Linked DNA regions of Homo sapiens: region 1 is linked to region 2. Evidence: promoter capture Hi-C in human tissues and cell types (Jung and others, 2019). All regions are on one chromosome and are shown on one strand. Each heading gives the region's core, a stretch centred on a gene start or on the middle of the fragment in contact. The rest is flanking DNA. Distances are from core to core; before and after follow the strand shown.

Region 1 (5,746 bases), core at 2,083-4,582, 60 kb after region 2:
TTTAGGGCTTGGGGAAAGTGAAGCTGAGGGGGAGAGGAAGAAACGTGCAGCACACAGCCTCACACTGGCGTTCTTCCCAGCCAGTCACTTACCCCCATCTCTGCTTTATCCCCAGCACCATCTGTCACTTCCGTTGTCACCCCTGCAATCTTGATACTTCCCCAAGAAGCGGGCTCTTCAGGGAGTACCTAGTCCCTCCTGAAGCAGGAATTGAGAGCCCGCACCCAAATGAGGCTCAAGGTCTCTGTCAGAGTGATATCTCCCCATCTTGTAAAAACGGCCAGTAGCCTCCTTGCTGAGCCATGCCGAAGAAAAACGGGAGCTGAGCAAGAGATGCCCGTGCAGCTCCCAGGGCACATGTGAGCACCACCTGCAGAGCTGCAGCTCTGCCCTCTCCCCCAGGAGGTGAGTCTGCCTGCCCTCCCTCTCTCTTGGGCATCAGACCATGCTATGTGTGCCCACCTTAGGAAGGTCTCCTTGGGGTCTTGATTGCAGTGGGTCAGAGCTGCGGGGCTGATGGAAAGCATTGGTCATTCCAGGGAGCACATGCTAAAAGACTGACCATGATAGGAACAGAGAGGATGGCAAGGAGGAGACCAAGCTCAGGGCCAAGGAGGAGGGAGACTGGATGGAGCCTGGGAACCCAGGGTCTGACTTGTGTCAAAAACCTTGGATGGCAAGGAGGGCAGTGGGTGCTTTGAGCGCATTATCTTGTTGATGCCAACAGCCCAAGGTTGGGTGAGGATGCAGACTTTGGTCATTGGCTAGCAAAGGTAGGGGGAACAAGATCCAAATTCCAATACCAGAGATGACAGAGAGGGTGGATACCTTGGCGTTTTGAGCCCTCGGATGGGCTAGGTGGAAGCATATATTATATTTGGGGCAGTAACTACCACGAATGTCTCTGTGGCTCAAGTCCAGCTACCAGAGGCGAGCAGCTGCAGGATGGTAGAGCAAAGGGCCTGAGGGCCAGCTGGCCTCTGTGTGTCCCTTGCAGCCTCCCCAGCCTTCCTGCCTCTGTGCTGCCAGCTTGGGTTTCAGGATCCCCAGGCATGGCCCCCAAGGCAAAAGCTTTGCCAGATAACCAGATGCAGAGCTATGCATGCAGGAGGGAGACACATCTGCCTGGGGAGGAGACGCCCTCCCAAGGTCTCCATGCCCTTGTGGTAGAGCTGGGGCACTCTGTTGGCTTCTTTTGGAGCCATCTGAACCTTCAGAGCTCCTGAAAGAACTGGCTGGGAAGAGGCAGCGGAGGACGGGGCAGGGGGCATCTTGGCTCTGCGTGCAGTTGCCCTACATGTTCTTGGGGCAAATTAGATATTCTCCTCAGGATACACGGCTTTCAGGTGTTCCCTATCCTAGAGGTCAGATTAGAGGGACAGAACCAGCAGAGGAAGGTACAGGGGCCCATGTCTGCTGGCAGGTGGCTGGCTGTTTTCTGAGGGGGCTCCAGGGCTTGGGCTGCCTGATGCTTGGGGTTCAGGAGGGGCTGTGGGTATGGACCCAAGCCCACTTGCCAGACATGGCTCTTGGGCCTGGGTACAAACCTGACATTCTGCCTGGTGTTGGAGTGAATGGACAAGCAGCAGAGAAGTATAGCAGTGCCACCCCCATACCTCTGCCAACCCGTATTGGTGCCCATGCATTCCTCCGTCCCTTTCCAGCACTGGCATCCATCGTGGGGTTGGACAGAAGGCGGGGCACCTTTGCTGCCCACATTCTCCCTCCAAGGGTTTCATTTGCTGTGAAACAGAGGCTGCCTTCTCCTGCCAGTGATACCCAGACCACTCGTGGCTTTCCCTGTTACAAGGCAGTGGTGGCTGCCACTGGAGTCCCTGAGCTAAGTAAGAAAATATGAATGCCTGGAGTTCTAGTACATTCTGCAGCCCAGAGCACCTTCCCCATCTCCTCTGTGGTGGGATAGACCACTCCCTCTCAGGCAGCACAATAAAGGCCAAGAATGTGTCTGTCCTAGGCCTGGGGGTTGGGGTGGCGAGTACTGGCCCAGCTACCAGTAACTGTGCTCTTAGCTTCCTGGAAATCTGATTTTGATGGGAAAAGCTTGAAACACACTATCCCAAATTAATAAGCTCCAGCCTGGCTGGCTGTGTGCAGAAAGGAAAGACAGTGCCTCTTAGTGAGACAGAGAAACAGAGAGAATGGAGTATTGGGGTCAGGGGATGGTTTTGCTCCCAAAATTCCTTCTCTTCCCAGGATGGGTGGAGTAGGACTGGCCTTGTGAGGATGATTGGCTTCCTGTTACCTTGACTGCCGTCATGTTGGGACCATGGCGGGTGATCCTTGCTTGAATCTTCTCTCAAGTTTTCTGTTGCCACTGTAGGAGAAAGATGCTTTGGCTCCCAGGTGTCCTCTTGATTTGGGACAGGTATATCCTGCCTCTATTCTTCCTTCCTGGCCCCGGGTAGCAGCATCCCACCCCCACCCTCCCACGTATGTCTCCTTGGTTATTTCCCGTAACCTCTGACCTGGGCTTAGAGGCTTGCTGTGGAATCCTGGGACCAGAGCCGAAGCCTTTCCTGGGAAAATTCCTAGGATTCCTCTCAGGCTCAAGGACAGTTGTGCTTATGACCGCGACCACGGGTTCTGGCTAGAGGCCTCTGCTCTGGCTATTTAAGGCCCAGGCTCCTGGGAGGAGCTGGAGCCGGGGCTAGCATAGTTTGTGCCAGGAACATGGGTGGAGAAAGCTTCCAGTGGTCCATTGACTCCTGAGTCCATTGCTCAGTTACTTAATAGGGCCACCCCCAGGGCTGGAGCTCCCCTGGGGAGTGGGCTTCCTGTCTGCCTGACTGGGTGTACAGGTGAGTGGGTGCTAGGCATGGGAGCCCAGAGGAAGAAAAGCATCCAAAGTCCAAGGCACTGGAGAACTCTGGAAGGCCTGAGGTCTGGGGGCTGCTCTTTGTCCATTACTCGGTAGCCAATCCACCTATGGTGGGGTATCCTTTCTACTCCCACTGCAACAACCAGCCTAGTTTGGGGGTTTGGATCACAGGGGTCTTTATTTACCCACAGCTTCCCCGGCTCTGTTGGTTTAGAGATTCAGTAGATTTCCAGTTCCTTCTGGATAAAAACCTGTTTTTGTGTGTTGGCAACCATGAGATGCAGTTTCTTCCCAGATCCCACCTTGTTTCATGGTAAAAGGGACAGCTCCTCTTGGCTGGTGATGAGGGCTGCTCTAGGAGGCTCAGACAGAGCATTTCCTATCAGGAAAAGGGCGTCCTAGTTATCCACTGGGCTGCGTAACAAAATGCTGTTCTCTACTTTGTCTTGGACGGCCGGGCATGGAGGCACGCAGCCGGCCTGAGAAGTTATTGTTTTGGTTGTTGTCTTTGATGTGCCAAAGAAATGATGACACAGAAGCCTGGGGCCTGGCTCAGGAGCCAAAAGCTTGTTAGTGATTAGAGAGGGGATAATGGCCCCATGGAGTTTCTCATTGCATATGTAGAGCTCAGAGCTGCCAACTCCCTCTATCCTGGGACTTTGAAGACATATACAACGCTCACCCCTGTGTGAGCACCTCAGGGAGCTGGGTGTGTGGAATGAGCCAGAGGCTTTGGGTCCACCTCTCTCTGGGGTCCAAGTTAAGTTGTCCTGCCTGAAGGCTCCTCCCCACAGAGCAGTCTGCCATGGGGCTTCCTGACTTGAGAATGGAGCCTGGCTGCAGGGTCCGTCCAGCTCACCCTCCCACCAGAGCCAGCTTACAGACCAGCAGGCCTTTGGCCCACACCAGCCCCCTGACATGTTGTATTGGGCCCTCATGGTATTCTCAGTTTGTATTGGTTGTCAATCTTTAAAAATTACAGAATTTCACATAAAAATATAGATTTCTGGGCCAGGCATGGTGGCTCACACCTGTAATCCCAGCACTTTGGGAGGCCAACGCAGGTGGATCACCTGAGGTCAGGAGTTCAAGACCGACCTGGCCAACATAGTGAAACCCCGTCTCTACTAAAAATACAAAAATCAGCCAGGCGTGGTGGTTGCGTGCCTGTAATCCCAGCTACTGGGGAGTCTGAGGCATGAGAATTGCTTGTACCTAGGAGGCGGAGGTTACAGTGAGCTGAGATCACACCACTCCAGCCTGGGTGACAGAGCCAGACTGTGTCTCAAAAAATACATACATACATATATATACATATATACATATATATATATATATATATACACACACATACACATATATACATATATATATATATACATATATACATATATATATACATATATACATATATATATATATATACACACACACACACACACACACATATATATATATGTGTGTGTATATATATATATATATATATATATATATATATATATATATGTATATATAGAGAGAGATTTTTGGGTTCTCTTTAAAAACGGGAAGATTTGGCAACACTAGATCTGTGTTCCCACAGTTGGCTGGCGTTGTGGAACTGTGGCCACCATGGATTGAGCATAAGCACAGGCTCTCCAGTTCTCTGCCATTCCCACCTCTCCCCGGGAACCCCCACGCTTGGCCAAGTTAGTGGCTGTCTTTCATCCAGCAGGCGGGGAGTGATGTGACTAGAAGTGTGGGTTTCACAGTCATGTTGTCTCCATTCAGATCCTGGCTTTGCTCTCCTGAGCAGTGTGGTCTTGGGCAAATTACACACTCTCTTGATGCCTCTATTGTCTCATCTAGACAATGGGGAGGCTGCTACGGCCTATGTCATAGGGCTGATGTGTGGACTAAATTAGATTAAATTAGGGTTGCGCAAAGCAAGCATGCAATACATGTTAGTTATGTCTGTTGTTGTTGCCATTGTTATTAAGGTGCTGCTCCCCTTCACCTATATATGTTACCTGCCTGGCTTCTAAAGGCATTTGAGTTTAGGCTTAGCCCTCTGAGGTCAAGGATCTGATGTCCTCATCTTTTCACTGGCAGCCATCTCAGTTCCTGGCACACAGCAGACATGTCCAGTGCGTGTGTGTTGAGTGACTGAATGAATGAGTTGGAAGCCTGCTAAGAACAGGGGAGGCAATGTAGCAGAGTGGTTTGGGACAAGAGCTTGGTCTGTTCTCAGGTCCCTGCTCTGCCCTGGTTAGTTCCCTAGCTTCTGTGTGCTTCAGTTTCCTCCCCTGTAAAATGGGGATAATCATGGAGTCTGTCATCCACAGTGAGGAAGGACCAAGTGAGAGCCTGGGTGTAAATCACTTGGCTTAGTTCACACATGGTGGTCCTCAGTGAGGTGTTGGTATCATCCCAGACGTCCCTTCCTTCCTTTGGTTGTGAATACTGAGATGTTTTACCTTCCACACTGTCCCTCCTTTCCTGGCTCTCCTCGCTTTCTCCCTGTTCCTCTGCATCCAAAGAGTTTTACTTTGGATCCTATGGCACCGAAGATGTTTCAGTTGCAAGTAATAGATAATACCACTCAACTAGCCTCAGCAATAAAGAGGATATGGCCAGGGGGAAGGGGAAAAGCCCAGAGATAGGGCAGACTCTGGCTCCCTCTTTTCTCTGTGATTTTCTTGGCTCTGCCATCCTGTGAGTAGACTGCAGCCTTAGGCTAGCTCCCCTAATGGTCTCAAGATGGTCATAAAGGCTCAACCTGCGTCACTTGCCTGTACTTGCACCGATCATGGCATCACGCTGATGGGCTCCCACCCTGGGAGTTGGAGCTGTGGTCTCACCCACCAAATTGCAGGGCTGGTAGCCACTGGGTCACCTGACTTTATTTCTGAGTCATGGTAGCTGAGA
Region 2 (5,384 bases), core at 2,534-5,033:
GGGACACACAGAGATGGGGAAGTCCTGTTTGGAGTCTCACTGCTGCTACTGTCTCATCTTTCCCGCTCGCTTGCGAGTTCTGCTCAATCTGAAGTCCAAATCCTGCTCTCCTAGGAAGGCTGCATTGATATCCACAACATACAGTTCTTTACACTGCTCATGTTTACATGACAGCATGGCCTTTGGAACCAGACATTAGGGGGTTAAGTATTGCCTCTACTGCTTATTAGCTACCTGACCTTGACAAAATAATGTCTCTAAGTCCCAGCTTTCTCACTTGTAAAATGGGGTTATACTGATACCTACTTCTGAGGAGTAAGAGGGCTAAAAAGATACATAGAGCACTTAGCACAGTGCTTGGCACTAAAGAAGTGGTCTTTAGTATTCCACTCATAGTCACATCACATTAACCATATCCAACAAAGAGAGTGGGCATCAAAGCAAGAAACCACAGGGACTTGTGAGGTGGGCAGTTGCTTTGCTTTGGTGTCATCAGTTCAGATTACAAGTGCCAAACTATGTGGAGTGGAGGCCCACCACCTCCCCACCTATCAGCTCCTTGATATAGGGCCTGGCCAGGAACAGCAAGGTCTGTGGCTCTAATCCCAGCTAAACACAGCCATCTAAGGGTCTCTTCAAAAGAACTCCCCCAGGCCTGAGAAAGTATTGAGATACTGAAGGGTGCAGACACCTCTCTTTATGTATTGGAAGCATATGTGCATGTTTCCACCCTCTCCATGCACACTCACCCCCCAACCACCATCACTAAGGGAGACTCCAGCTTTGTGGCAGTTTCTTCCCCCTTCTCTTCTCCAAGATTCTCTGTGCTTTTGTAATAATGAGATAGGAAGTATCAGTGCCCCCTAGCCAAAGACCACCACGAGCACACCTGTAGTTGAACAAGTTGGGTTCATTGCTTGTTGAAGTGAGAGAGGACACGTAGCATGGGAAACCACGTGGCATCTCAGGAAGAGAGCATTGGAAAGGACTTAGAGGATCTGGGTTTGGGTTAGTGCTTTTCAAGAGGGTTAAAGAAGCAGAACTTTCCTTTGTGCTGGATGCTGTCAAGAAGCAAGAGTAATTCTATGATTGGGTATATTAATAAATCTTATCTAGAAAGAGGAATGATTAGAGTGAGGCTAAAGCTGCAATTGGTAAAGAAGCAGCAGGTACTCACATTAGCTAGGACAGCAGGCACTCATTAGCTAGGTCATTTTTGTGACTTGGACAATGTTCATGCTTTTGTATGTGTTAGACATGATTAGAGTGCTGTTGTTTTTGTCTTGATCCATCATTGTTAAAGAACGGCCCTGTCTCACATTGATGCCCTGTGAAATGGCTTATGTCCAATGGGACAACAGTAAGGCCTTGCTGTGAATGTCAGGTCAAATTCTGGCAACACCAAGGTCCAGCTGGGCCTTTCAGATGTTAGGGGTTACTTTTCTCTTTCTCAGAACAGAAGAGGTTAAGAGAGACGTGGGTAGGTGGGATTTCAGTTTTCTGGGGACTTAGGCAGAGAGTTGCTTAGTGTGTGCAAGAGGTGAGCGGTAGGTGGGTGGAGTGGGTTAATAAGAATCGCTCTGGACTGCATCCTCATGGTCCCTAGCAGAGAGTTGCTTAGTGTGTGCAAGAGGTGAGTGGTAGGTGGGTGGAGTGGGTTAATAAGAATCGCTCTGGACTGCGTCCTCATGGTCCCTAGCAGAGAGGTGCTGTAGTGTGTGCAAGAGGTGAGTGGTAGGTGGGTGGAGTGGGTTAATAGAATTGTTCTGGACACTGTGTCCCCATAGTTTTCAAGAAATATAAGTAAAAAACATAACCATTTTTTTTTTTTTTGAGACAGAATCTCACTCTGTTGCCCAGGCTGGAATGAAGTAGCGTGATCTCGGCAGACTGCAGCCTATGCCTCCTCGGTTCAAGCGATTCTTGTGCCTAGGCCTTCCAAGTAGCTGGGACTACAGGTGCGTGCCACCACGTCCAGCTATTTTTTTTTGTATTTTTGTAGAGACAGGGCTTCGCCATGTTGCCGAGGCTGGTCTCGAACTCCTGAGCTCAAGCAATCTGCCCACCTTGGCCTCCCAAAGTGCTGGGATTACAGGCATGAGCCACCGCCCCAGCCAACATGAGCAATTAAAAATTTTTTGTTGTTGTTTGCTGGGCTGTCTTTCTTCTATTTTGATGCTGCTGTGAGACTCTGTGGATCAGGGTCTTAAAAATATTAAAAGTCTTTCAGGCCGGGTGCGGTAGCTCATGCCTGTAATCCAGCACTTTGGGAGGCCAAGGTGGGTGGATCACCTGAGGTCACGAGTTTGAGACCAGCCTGGCCAACATGGCGAACCCCGTCTTTACTAAAAATACAAAAATTAGCTGGGCGTGGTGCCCGGTGCCTGTAATCCCAGCTACTTGGGAGGCTGAGGCAGGGAAAATTGCTTGAACCTGGGAGGCGCAGGTTTCAGTGAGCAGAGATCCGGCCACTGCACTCCAGCCTGGGCGACAGAGGGAGACTCTGTCTCAAAAAAGCAAAACAAACAACAAAAGTCTTTCAAAGCCGAAAGGTTCTTAGGCACTGTCTTAAAGCCTAGCGCTCCAGCTGAAGCTGGTGCCTGAGTCCAGATGGTGTTGAAGAAGGAGCAGGGCCCAGCGGGCACCACTCTCAGAAGTCGGGCTCAGGTGTCTCCTGCCTCCGAACCCAAGAAGACCCAAGAAGACAGAGTTCCTCAGGCTCCCAGTGTCCCTAGGAAGTGGCAACCTTGACTCTTGGCCAGAGTTCAGAGTCCTGGTTATTAACACCAATAAACCTTTATTTGCCAGGGATACTACCATGGGAGGACACAGCCCCTGAGCCCAGCCCTGTTGATCCTGTGGGAGCGGGAGGGCAGCGGAGGACAAAGGCAGAGACCTGAGAGCCGGAGAGGCTCATCAAAGGGTCCCCAGCCCCTCTCAGGAACGGAGCATTTCTTGGCAGAGTGGTATTCATAGGACAGAGTTTGGGAAGTCGGGGCAGGGGAGCCTGAGGACACAGCAAGGAGAGCTCAGTGGCAGGTGCAGGCAGAGCGTTCTTTGGAAAATGGAGATCCTGGAAGGTGAGGGCCTCGAGCGCCAGTGTCCAGCCTTAGTGGGTATGCATATGTCCAGCTCCCTAAGGACACACTCAGGACAGCTAAGGTGCACACAAGTCCAGGGGCTTCCCCGTGCTCCGCCCCCCTCTCCCCCACCCCGGTAGCAGGCTGGAGGGCCCAGACCATGCTGGGTAGTGGGAGAAATGGAAAGAAATGGGACAGGGAACAGGAGACAAGAGCCCATGGTGGGAGTCAAAGAGCTGGAAGAGTTTTGGAAATGGGGGTCTGGGGGTAGAGTTGATCAAGGGCCGAGTTACTCAGCGGGACAGGTGGGAGGCACGAGGCCCTGGCAGCTCTGTTTTCTTGGCCGGGCTTGGGGGGGAAAGCGGGTAGCCGTCAGGCGCCTAAGGGCCCGCCCTGGACCTCCCCACCGAGGGAGGTGTCAGGCCCCGAGGGACCCGGCCCCCGAGCATCACGGACGCGCTGGAGGCCGGTGGGCGGTCGCCGTAGTCGCCCTCCCACCACCTCGCTCAGGTTTCTCCGGCCTGGGGCAAGAGGCCTGTGGCCCGCGCGGGAACGCACTGTCCACCCTCAGACCTGGGACTGGGCCGGCGCGCGGACGCTACCAAGAGGCTGCGGCTCCCGCCCCCGCGGCCGGACGTGGCGCCTCCCCTGAGGCCGCGGCCGGAGCCTGGAGGTGGGGTCGGAGTCAGAGCCCGGGGCTCTGATGTCACCGCGCGGCTGCGACGGCCCAGGAGCGCGTCTCGGCGGGAGCCTCAGGTACGCGGCGGGGGCGGGGGAGCGGGAAGCGGGCGGCTGGGTCCGCTTCCCCCGGGAGGCCGGCGGGGCTGCGGGCGGACGGGGGTGAAGAGCGGGCGGCGAGGCGGTGGTCGCGGGGCAGCCCGGGCATCGTTCGGCCGGGACGTGTCTGGCTCGGCGCCGCGTCAGGTTGCGCCAGTGGAGTCGGACCCCAGCGCGCCTCTCCCAGCTGCAGAGCTGCAGGGCGGAGAGGCGGCCCACTCTAAGCTGGCGGCGCGGCTCAGGGGCGCGGCTGGGCGCGCCGCGTGTGGCGCCGGCGGGCAGCGCGGTCTCACTCCGCCACCCTCCGCTCCTGCCCTTTGTCGCCAAGCATCTGGAGAAGCCGGGTCCTTCCCTCCCGGGCTCGCGCTGTCCCCTGCGCGCGATCCTTCCCCGACGGTGAACCCAACGGGAAAGGCCCAGAACTGCGCGGGGCTGCGGCCATCTGCTGTCGAGCCGCTCCGCGTGTCTCTGCCGCCCCCTGCGGCCGCCGGGGCCTGCGCCTCTCTCCCTCCCGTGCCTCGGCTCCCAGAGATTGAACCCCAGGTAACCGGGTCTGTCCACGCCCGCGGCCGCCTCTCCCCGGGTGTCGCCAGCTTCCTGCATTTCCTGTGCATGGCACGGAGCTCGGGTCTCCAGAGACTCTGCATCTGGGGTGCAGCGACCGATGAGCCCGTAAACCAGTCGCACACTCGGAGCGTGGATGCTGCGTGGGGTGCGCTGTCAGCGCGGACAGGCTGGGAGAACGGGGGACGCTGGGGACAGGGAGAGCCGGTGAACTTCCCAGAACGTCCGCCTAGCCAGACCCAGCTGCGGGTACTGGGTTTTGAGACGTGGTCCAGTACCCAGGAACTCAGTCTGACAGGGAGACAGCGCCTACACAGTGAGCCCAGTACTGAGGGAAGACCCGCTGGGAGGGGCGGCCTGGATAGCCCCTCCACAGAGAGGTCAGATGTGAGGTGGCCTTGAGGGAGGTATGATGTAAATCCTGATCATTCGTTGTATTTGAGGCTGTCCGTTCTCCTGTGCCTCCTCGGTCGCCTTACTTGGATCTGTTCCCATTGCCTTGGTGTGATTTTATCCACCGGAAACTGTCTTCAGCTATTTCCCCAGTAACCTCTAACTAAAAACCTGGGTCTTGCCTGGTCTACCCTCCCCTGCTGAACTCCAGAGCCACATCCCAACTGCTGCCTGACTTGTCACAGACACCATGAAGCCCAGACTGAAGGAGCACTGGCCCCCTTGACAATTCCTCAGCCCCAGCTCCTCCTTTCAGACTGGTGCCTCCACCTGCCAGACCCCTAGCTTTGAAGGCCAATCTCATCTTCGTCTCCTTCCTCTCTGGCTCCTTCATTCAGGTGACAAGTATACATCAAATGCCCACCCCAACTCCCCCTCCCAGGACTCCAATCTGGTGTCTTTCTAGCGGGGAGTCTAGGTTGCTCCCTCTGCTCTGGAGAGGCTTGGCAAAATGCCTGCAGAGCTCCTTGAGCTCCACCTCTGAACTCCCTTTCAGCAGCCGGCACAGGC

The links. The method cuts DNA at HindIII sites, captures the fragments that hold promoters and counts their contacts. A contact is called where the count stands out against the background at its distance.
Region 1: a contact is called between a fragment that was not itself captured here and the fragment with the promoter of SHROOM1 in region 2, in 2 of the 25 tissues and cell types used here (dorsolateral prefrontal cortex and hippocampus).

The regions. Positions count from the first base shown.
Region 1 is chr5:132,768,582-132,774,327 of GRCh38, reverse strand. All of the region lies in intron 1 of SEPTIN8 (septin 8), which reads left to right. Among named protein-coding and RNA genes, the nearest start is that of SEPTIN8, 5.8 kb to the left of the region's middle. The HindIII fragment of the contact is 3,532 bases long and covers 1,567-5,098 here.
Region 2 is chr5:132,829,046-132,834,429 of GRCh38, reverse strand. It overlaps SHROOM1 (shroom family member 1), which reads left to right and starts at 3,783. Exons shown (of 10, transcript NM_001172700.2): 1 at 3,783-3,836. RefSeq lists silencers at 3,475-3,894, 4,105-4,414. The HindIII fragment of the contact is 17,651 bases long and covers 1-5,384 here.